Regions from separate parts of the Homo sapiens genome. Here regions 2 and 3 are each linked to region 1. Evidence: promoter capture Hi-C in 16 types of primary human blood cells and fetal thymus (Javierre and others, 2016). All regions are on one chromosome and are shown on one strand. Each heading gives the region's core, a stretch centred on a gene start or on the middle of the fragment in contact. The rest is flanking DNA. Distances are from core to core; before and after follow the strand shown. Region 1 holds the start of HAL (histidine ammonia-lyase). Region 2 overlaps ELK3 (ETS transcription factor ELK3). Region 3 overlaps SNRPF-DT (SNRPF divergent transcript).

Region 1 (3,303 bases), core at 285-2,784:
TTTCTTTTAATTTTAAACAGGGTCTTGCTCTCACCCAGGCTGGAGTACAGTGGTATAATCATAACTCATTGCAGCATTGACTGCCTAGGCTTAAGCAATCCTTCCAAGAGATGGCTGTTTTTTGTGATGACTAAGGGGATGGGTGTTATTCCAAGTGTAGACATAAGTTTAGGGATGCAAAGGAATCTCAGAGTGCTTAAGAAAGAGTGGTCCAGTGAGCGACTAGGGACCAGCTTCCTAGGATAGTAAGTGAGGATGCTGGTGGGAAGTGGAGGGATGAAGAGACTGACTGGAGGTCAGGTCCAAGGCTGGCAGTGACTAGAGTAAAAGGGCAGCTGGAAGGTTGTGGTCAGAAGGTGGAATATTGGAATTTCAGATTTCTTAAGTGTGTCAAATTCAGGTCGTGACAGATTCCAGGGTGATTTCTTAAGTGTGTCAAATTCAGGTCATGACAAATTCCAGGGTGCAGTCATGGTGTGGGTATCTGAAGAGCAAGTTTCAATAAGGCTCAAGGAAGGGTAGCTATTTGTACGCTTCCTGGGAAGCTGTCAGCAGATGAGAGGGACTCTGGGTATGAGTATAGGTGTTTTTCTTGAGCAACCATGTCTCTCTTCCCAACAGAAGTCTGATTTAGTGGAAACAGACTTTTCAGGATTTTTCTAGTGCAATAATCAAATCTCTAAAAATTGGCTTACGATGAAAGTGCTGCTTAGTCAAAATAGCATCTGCATATCTTTGATGCCGTAATCATGCTATCCAGAGTTCCTTAATACCAATGGTAATAAGGCGGGTGCAGGGAGCAGTTATCTGTGGTGAAGAAGCTTAATTGGGTGAGGGATATCCATGTGCCAAGATGAAAGAGCATTTATGGAACTTTATAGCTTTATGATTCATACAGAACATTTATAAAGCATTATAGTTACATGGAGTATTGGTGTCCAGATACTAGTAATCACAGACACTTCTATAATATTTCCACTATGCCAGGTGTTGTGTTGAGGGCTTTACATATATGAACTGACTTCATCCTCCCAATAGCCCTTTGACATATATACTATCATCATTACCATTATCTTCATTTTACAGATGAGGCAACTGAGGCCCAGAGAAGTCAAATCACTTGCCCACAAGTCATACACTTAGCAAATGGCAGAGCCAGGATTTGATCACAGGTAAATCCTGCACATACTGGAAGGAGGCAGTTAGCCCCTAGGCCTTCTGATAAGGAAATACAGGGTAATACTCACCTAATCAAGGCTAATAAGTAGTAGAGCTGGACTCTCATCCACGGCTGTCTGAGCCCCTAATCTCCAAGTCAGAGTGGTTCATTTGCCCAGATGACGACCTTTAGTTGTGAAAATGATCTCTGGCCTTTGCAGTCTTCCCTGGTGGAAAGAAAGCTTCAGAAAACCTTACTGGTGACAGGAAGTAGTTGCTCAATACATGTTTGTGGAATAAACAAATGAGTGACGATTGCCACACTCCCAGTGTCACAGTTGGCCCACAGAACACGTTTTACAGTTGAGTAATCTCAGATAAAGACAGGAACATGGTGTTTATAAGCTGCCCTTAATGGCAGAGAACACAGACAGAAACGAGGGAAGAGAGAGAAATTGGGGACCCTGAAGAAAGGGGGCCAGCAGCAGGTAGGTGCCATCAGGGACAAGAACAGCACCTCCCAGGGTGGGAGACCCCAGGCCTTTCTGGCAGCAGGTCTGGATGGAAAGTGGACAGGAGGCTCACCCGTCTGCATCCCCTGCTCCTGCCCCTGCTCGGCTACAAAAACCAAAGGGACAGCAGGTACCTCAATAAATATTTGTCCAATGCATGAATGAGTAAAGGTGAAGGAGGGGGAGTGGTTTGAAAGTCTATTCTCATCCTTCCAGCTGACCACACCCCGGTAGCCACTCCTGCATAAAGCTCTCCCCTCCTGTGACCAGCTGAGGACCTCAGGCTGCAGCGGAGCCATGCCCAGATACACGGTGCACGTACGTGGGGAATGGCTGGCAGTGCCCTGCCAGGACGCGCAGCTCACTGTGGGCTGGCTGGGCCGGGAGGCCGTGAGGCGCTATATCAAGAATAAGCCCGACAATGGTGGCTTCACCTCCGTGGATGACGCGCACTTCCTTGTGCGCCGGTGCAAGGGCCTGGGCCTGCTGGACAACGAGGACCGGCTCGAGGTGGCCCTAGAGAACAACGAGTTCGTGGAAGTGGGTGAGTGGCTGCAGGAGAGGGCCGCGAACGGGTGCGGTTTGGCCTGGCTTAGTCTTTGCAGCATTGAACCCCCACCTCAGGGAAAATGATGAGCAGAGGTCAGGCTTGCCGAGGCTGGCCCTGTGCAGGCACATGCCACGCCTCTGGGGATCTTAAGTCCTCACACAACCCTGTGAGATGGGTAGGATTCTCCTCCACCTCTGATGGAGGAGAAATCAGAGAGGAGGTAACTTACCCAGACTCCAGCAGCTAGTAAGTAACAAAGACTAGACTGGTACTCAAGGCTGCAGGTCTGAATCCCTTTGCAGTGACTGAATCATTTTGAGGTTATTTTGCCTTTCGAAAGAATCCACCCCCACCCCCAGACTGGAGGCCGGCAGCATAGCATCAGTTCAGATTTTGAAGAAAATAAAGCTGGGAATGGGGATGGAAGTGGAATTCTGTCTTGAACTTTCATCTAAACCCCTGGTCTCTGCCCTGACACCTACCTTTCTGCTTTTTGCTCTCCTCCTACATAAAGATGCTAAGACCACATGAAACCATCTGAAGCAGTTTTAAAGCAGCCATTTCTATAGAATTCATGGGCCAATGATGGGCCGTTCCTTGGTTTAACAGGGGGAACATGGCTGTACAATGTGATCTGTAACGAGTCTCCCGTGCATTGTTTTAGTTATAGAGGGTGATGCCATGTCTCCTGACTTCATTCCATCTCAACCAGAAGGAGTTTATCTGTATCCTTTCCCACAGGCTCTTTGGTCTGCTCTGGGGGTGGCTCCTGCAGATGGTGGGGCTGGGGGTTTTTCCACACCACCCTATATGTTCCTTTACCTGGATACAGATACAGCAAGTACCGGGAGCCTGAAAAGGTAAGCTTCAAACCACTTTCTTTTTCTTCAGAAAATTAAGGCCCCTTATTTAAGAGGGAGGAAAGCCAGGAAAACTTCTGAGAAAACACTGTCAATTAGAACAGGGCTGGCCGGGAGCAGTGACTCATGTCTGTAGTCCCAGCACTTTGGGTGGCCGAGGTGGGCAGTTCACTTGAGGTCATCAGTTTGAAACCAGCCTGGCCAACATGGTGAAACCCCATCT
Region 2 (3,303 bases), core at 550-3,049, 220 kb before region 1:
ACAATTACCTTTTAAGCTACAGGGAATCCTCCTCACAGAGCTTGCTGTGGAGTCACATGGCCTTCACCAGGCTAGAAGGCATTGTGTAGCTACAGCACCCACCTGGGCTCTTTGTCCATTAGGCAATGAGCCCCACACAGGCACTGAAATCCAGGGAGACTCTTCAGCCACATGGCGACTGTGGTTTATAAGGTGACTTGGAGTATGCTTCTGTTTTGTAGTCTATCATCAAATATGAAAGCACAAAAAATCGTAAATGCTTGCAGAAAACTCAGATGCTAGGGCACTGATTCTCCGACTCCAGCTTAACAAACACTGGTTTAAATGCTGACCCTGAGGCCTCCAAGCTGTGTGACCTCAGCAAAGAGGGTCCCTGGGGCTCTCTCCTTCCCTGGGGTACATTCGGCTCCCATCTATGTGGTTTCTCTGGAGCAGGAAGGAGAGTCAAGTACATGAGAGCTGTTGGGTCAGATAGCGAAGAAAGAAAGATGTTCTAAATGACAAGCCAAGGGACAATGATGACAACACCGCTCATAGCCGCTGCAGATGGGGCCCTACAGGAGGGCATTCACGGGCTGGTCAGGGCAAAAGACACAGAGTAGAGAGGCCGAGAGTAAAACGCTTGACCTCTGGCACAGAGGGGAGGGACATTTTTGCAGACTCTGAGTGATTATTTTCTGCCCTTATTCTGTTTTCAGCTTTTTGCACTTAAAGAATGCAGTTATGAAAACAGTTTTGAGGCTAGGCGTGATAGCTCACGCCTGTAATCCTGGCACTTTGGGAGGCCGAGGTGGGTGGATCGCTTGAGCCCAGGAATTCGAGACCAGCCTGGGCAAGAGTAAGACCCCATCTCTACAAAAAATACAAAAATTAGCTGTGTCTGGTGGTCCGCGCCTGTCCACCCAGCTACTCAAGAGGCTGGGGTGAGAGGATCGCCTAAGCCTGGGAAGTAGAGGCTGCAGTGAGCTGTGATTGCACCACTGCACTCCAGCCTGGGTGACAGAGCGAGACCATCTCTCTTTAAAAAAAAAAAAAAAAAAAAAGGTTTTATGTCCCTCTTTAGTCTTTCCCATGTTTTTATTTAACTTTGATTCATTCTTTAATCCGACGGAGCCTCAAAAAGAAAGATGCTATTGACAGAAATATTGATCATTCTCATTACGCTGTGCCCGCCTCCGCCTACGTGAGAGCTGTCAGGTCACATGACACGATCCCAGCTTCAGGTGTCCCAGCTGCCTCCTGCCTCTGTCACCGAAAAGCTACTGGCCTCTTCTTGGAAGCTGACCTCCTTCCTGTCGGCCACAAGGTGGCGCCCGACGTCTTAATGTGAGCAAGGGCCGCACAGACCCCTTATGCAAAGTATGAGGTTTTTGCCTCCATTCTTAGAAGTCGAAATGCCCACTTATTTGTTCTTCTTTCTACTGATGGCAACCTAGCACTTCCCTTTGCATGTTCCTTGTTTCATTTTTACTGAGGTGGGAGTTGAGGGGGCAGAATTAGCTTTGATTTTCTTAAGCTTCTATGTGGTGGGAAATAAGAAACGAGGCAACTTAAAAAAAAAAAAAAGGCAATGAGAGCCCAAGAAAAGGAGAAAAACTTCTGGGTAAGGAATAAACAAAATAGGTGCTCATGAGGTACCCATGTCTTTTTTCGTTTGTTAAATTTTGCATGGTTAGAGAAATGAAGATGGATTTGAACACTTCTTACTGAAAATTCTGCTGAGTTCAACTCCTCTGCCAGTATCTGCTATGCATTTCCATGTCATGATACTATCATTGTCTAAGACAAAGGGTAGTAGCCATTTCATTATAGAAAATGAACCCTGTACCTCAGTCAAAGAACTGGAAGACAACATTTTATATTATTAGGGATCTGCAATAACTCAGCACAGAGTAAGTGTAAGGTATTAAGTAAATAAGGATAATATTTGAAAAAAAAACTTATACAAGTTCTGAAGTTTTTTATTATTTCTGTGAGTTGGAAGACTATTAAATTTATTTTCAAAGGACATTTAAATTATTTTGATCATTATCACTGTGTATAAAAAAGGCATGAGGCCAACTTCATGTCTCCCAAGCTTTTCATTTATTAACAAGTATTTGCATTCTGTGAATATCTACAAATTGTTCATTTTAAAAAAGGTAAACAAAAGTAGGTATTGCTCACCTATTTACTTACTCTTTACAGTCTGCAATGGTTTTTGCTGTTTTTTTTTTTGTTTGTTTGTTTTGTTTTGTTTTTTGAGACAGAGTCTTGCTCTGTCGCCCAGGCTGGAGCACAGTGGTGTGATCTCGGTTCACTGCAAGCTCCGCCTCCCAGGTTCAAGTGATTCTCGTGCCTCAGCCTCCCGAGTAGCTGGGACTACAGGCGCACACCACTGCCTCCGGCTCATTTTTGTATTTTTAGTAGAGACAGGGTTTCAGCATGTTCGCCAGGGTGGTCTCAAACTCCTGACCTCAGGTGATCCACCCACCTCGGCCTCCCAAAGTGCTGGGATTATAAGCGTGAGCCACCGTGTCTGGCCCAGTCTGCAATGTTTTTTAAATAACTCTTCCATCTTGGGAAAGAGAAAGGTTGCTGGGATTACATGCCTGTACATGTTATATCTAGCACAATGTAATATCTAGCACAATGCAAGGATTACTGGGTTTTTAATGAACGGATTACATGTCTGTAATCCCAGCACTTTGGGAGACCGAGGAGGGAGGACAGTTTGTGCCTAGGAGTTCAAGACCAGCCTGGGCAACACGAGACCCCCATCCCCACAAAAAACACAAAAGTTAGCTGGATGTGGTGACACATACCTGTAGTCCCAGCTACTTGGGGAGCTGAGGCAGGAGGATCACTTAAGCCCAGGAGTTTGAGGCTGCAGTGAGCTGTGATCACATCACTGCACCCCAGCCTGGGCAACAGAGCATGAACCTGTCTCAAAAACAAAACAAAAAAAAAGAGAGATTTTTCAGAGGAAATCACTGACAACCACTGAAATAACAACATATGCAATTTACTGTGTGTAGGAACACCCCTCTTTCCTTCTGGAACTATGCTGTCTCTGGCTAAATTAGAAGTAACTCAATTGGTTTGTCAGTGACTTTTATATGGGTGAGTAGTAAATGATGGCTTCGTTAACACTGGCTGAGAAAATGTCTTACAACCATTCGACTTTTTCCCACAGAATTCACCGCACCCCACCCTAATAACCACCATACAACCCAGCCCTATGTTATCCTACATTTTCAGAGCGGGCCCACAGTAAGACAGAAAAGGGCCTATTTCCATCCAAGGCTGCCTCGTGTGGGTACC
Region 3 (3,303 bases), core at 244-2,743, 140 kb after region 1:
CCTCTGTGATATGAGTTTAATTTTCCTTGGTTAATGAAATTTCAGTAAGAAGATTGAAGACAATTGTTTTCCTCTTCAGTGGATTGGATCTTTAGGTAGATAAGGAAACTTCAGAGAAAAGTCTCTTCCTGTGCTTCAGGAGAGGAGGAGGGGCAAGAGATGGGGGGTGGGAGAAGGTCAGAGAGAAGGTCAGACCTTGGTTCTGAGGCTGCTGCTTTAGTGCAAAGTAGCAGTATGCTTCGGGGTATCATTTTCTGAGCCCCAACAAAGGAAACCTGGTATTGTGGGTAGGAGCCAATACTGTCTGAGTTCAAATCCTGACTCTGCCATGTGCAGCTTATCTCTGCTTCAATCTCCTCATCAATAAAGAGGATGATCATGATAGTACCTATCTTAAAAAAATTTTTTTTTAGTGAGGTGGGCTGTAACTATGTTGCCCAGGCTGGTCTCAAACTCCTGGGCTCAAGCAATCCTCCTGTCTCAGTCTCCCAAGTGGCTGGGATTATGGGTGTATACCACCATGCCCAGTTCAATACCCATCTTATAAGGCTGCTATTAGGATACAATATTTGTGGTGTTTATCCACCTCCTGATACTGAATAGTTTCTGTAGCGAGGTACGTAGGCACGTGAGTAGGTCAATGTGACCTACAATAACTAATGCTAATAACTAATATTGGACTACTTGTTTGCTGTTTGCTAAACTGCTGCTTGCTCAAAAAGTTCTGGGCTGTTGGCTTTGATTCTTCAGCTGTGCTGGAATCCACTGTGCACATCTATCTGTCTGGGTCTATCACTTCACCTCTTGGGACCTGGGGGGCAAGGGAGGCTGACATGGCTAAGACAATGCTTCTGTTTGCTGTGTGTAGTAAACTGTCTTGTTCTGATCCACATAGTCTCATTGTCTCCTTTCAGCACCTGTGGAGAGACAGCAGGTTTACTCCTTGCTACCTGAAGTTGGGGTTCTCTCCTGACTCTCACAGGGTTAACATTAAATGAAGAACATTAAATGAGATAATATATGCAACGCAGTACAATATCTGGTCAGTTCGATAAATATTTGTTCTCCTACATTTATATTCAATCAAAATCTAATTATCCCCAAAAGCTTGGTTTAAGTAATGTAAAACCAATGTAAAAGTAGCACCTTATATATTTATGGGGAGACCAATCCCTTTATGGACCAGAAAATTAGTTTGCCTAATAACTCAAGATATAAGAGATTAGTCTAGACCCAAAACCACATTTATTAGCCATTAAGTGCAGAGGGAGCTGGAGGGAGCTAGCAATCAAGGACCTGGGAAACAGATGAGACAGAAAATGAGTGGATGCATACAATTTGTTCATATATATTGAGTTATATTAAAAAAGCAGTATAGGCCAGGCAGTGTGGTGCATGCCTGTAATCCCAGCACTTTGGGAGGCCGAGGTGGGTGGATCACTTGAGGCCAGGATTTCAAGACCAGCCTGGCCAACATGGTGAAACCCCATCTCTACTAAACCTCGTCTCTACTAAAAGTACAAAAATTAACCAAGCATGGTAGTGCATGCCTGTAAGCCCAGCTACTCAGGAGGCTGAGACACAAGGATCACTTGAACGCAGGAGGCAGAGGCTGCAGTCAGCCGAGATGGCACCACTGCACTCCAGCCTGGGCGACAGAATGGGACTCTGTCTCAAAAAAAGAAGGCAGTATATACGGCAGCAGAAGATAATAAAAACAGTATATTTAATAGCACATTATATGATTGTTTTATATGATTGACAACATAATGGTTGATAATGCTGGTTCTAGAGGCCAGGTTCGAATCTGAGTTTGAATCCTGCCCCCAACACTTACTAGTGGGAACTTGTGTAAGTTACCCGCCCTCACTAAGCTTATTTTCCCATGACATAGGGATAATTGTTTCTTTCTCCCAGTGTGGTAGTGGATGTTAGGAGTTAGTACAAGGTTGTTCCTCTATCCTTCCTGAAGATGTGGTTTTAAAACCATTAGATGGAGTAAGCAAAGTATGCACCTGTGCTGGGGTATGGGGGTAGTCACAGTGGTCTGAATGGAGTGAGGAGAACATCCACATAAGAGAGCAGCCAGTGTGGGGTGTCAGAGCCTGAGCAGGAGGAGGAAGGTATCTACATAGGAGGGCAGGCAAACATGGGAAGTTGGTGCCTGAGGAGGTGAGGATGGTGATCACGCATGGCGAGGGGCAGCCCAGCACCAGCCATTGGAGCCCAAGTAGGATGAAGCATCCCCAGAGGGTGGCCTGACAGGGAGTGTTGGAGCCTGAGTGGGGTTAAGAGGGTGTCCACACTGCGGGGAAGAGGGTGGCCTGCTGTGGAGTGTCAGAGCCTAAAGGAAGCAAGGAGGATGTCCATGCAGAATGACCTGGCACACGGTGTCAGAACCTGAATGGAATGAAGAAGAAATGCAGGGGAGGGGACAATGGCAGGAAGGGAAATTTGTTACAAGGGCACTAATCAAAGGAATCAACCTATAATAATGAGCATACTTAATGCTCAGGTTTTAGTTTCTAGAAACTGCTTCCCACTAAAGGAATCAGGATCCCTTCGAACATTGGCTATTTTCAGTCTTCTTCACTATAGTAACTGGTAGACACCATCTTATTACAATCCAGTGATCAAACAACTATCGTTAGCAACTGGAAAATCAAAATCAGGTGCCACATGATAAGATGCAAAGAAAAGATGCATTCTGTGATATTCTTACCAAAGCCACATAACCTGAATCTAGTAATCAGGAAATATCAGACAAACCACATTGAGGAACAAAGTGGCCTGCAATGTTCAAGAGTGTCAAGGCCACAGAAAGATCTCCATGATAAATTGCTGAGAAAGACAAGGCACCGAATAATTTGCAAAATATGCTGCCTCTGTATAAAAAGAGAAAGAAGGGGATAACAAGCTATCCATTTCTGTGTATGTGCATAAGTATACTGGAGGGCTCCTAAGATACTAAGAACACGGGTTGCCTATGGGTGTAGTGGGAACTACACTGAGGGCAGACAATGATGAGATGTTTCACTATGCATTTTTTAAAAACTTTTAATTATGAAATTCACATATTAACCATTTCAAAGTATACAATTGAGTGGCATATAGTACATTCACAATGTTATTGCAACCACCACCTCTATATAATTCCAAAACATTTTTGCAAGTTCATTTATTTGTTTGTTTGTTTTGGGATGGAGTCTCGCCCTGTCACCCAGTTTGGAGTGCAGTGGTGCAGCCTCGGCTCACTGCTAACCTCCGTCTCCTGGGTTCAAGCGATTCTCCTGGTTCAGCCTC

Evidence for each region. The method cuts DNA at HindIII sites, captures the fragments that hold promoters and counts their contacts. A CHiCAGO score of 5 or more calls a contact.
Region 2: a contact is called between a fragment that was not itself captured here and the fragment with the promoter of HAL in region 1, in 2 of 17 cell types (monocytes and M0 macrophages). The highest score is 8.2, in monocytes.
Region 3: a fragment that was not itself captured here is called in contact with the fragment with the promoter of HAL in region 1 in 1 of 17 cell types (endothelial precursors); the score reaches 5.1 in endothelial precursors.

The regions. Positions count from the first base shown.
Region 1 is chr12:95,994,575-95,997,877 of GRCh38, reverse strand. HAL (histidine ammonia-lyase) reads left to right here and starts at 1,534. Exons shown (of 21, transcript NM_002108.4): 1 at 1,534-1,800; 2 at 1,887-2,214; 3 at 2,885-2,945; 4 at 3,053-3,080. The coding sequence starts at 1,968. It overlaps LOC102723340 (a long non-coding RNA gene), which reads right to left and starts at 1,396. Exons shown (of 4, transcript XR_945237.4): 1 at 1,248-1,396. RefSeq lists an enhancer at 1,152-1,321. The HindIII fragment of the contact is 1,685 bases long and covers 1,403-3,087 here.
Region 2 is chr12:96,213,370-96,216,672 of GRCh38, reverse strand. The region is part of intron 1 of ELK3 (ETS transcription factor ELK3); the gene reads right to left. Among named protein-coding and RNA genes, the nearest start is that of ELK3, 21 kb to the right of the region's middle. The HindIII fragment of the contact is 561 bases long and covers 1,519-2,079 here.
Region 3 is chr12:95,851,262-95,854,564 of GRCh38, reverse strand. The region is part of intron 1 of SNRPF-DT (SNRPF divergent transcript); the gene reads left to right. Among named protein-coding and RNA genes, the nearest start is that of SNRPF-DT, 5.9 kb to the left of the region's middle. The HindIII fragment of the contact is 767 bases long and covers 1,110-1,876 here.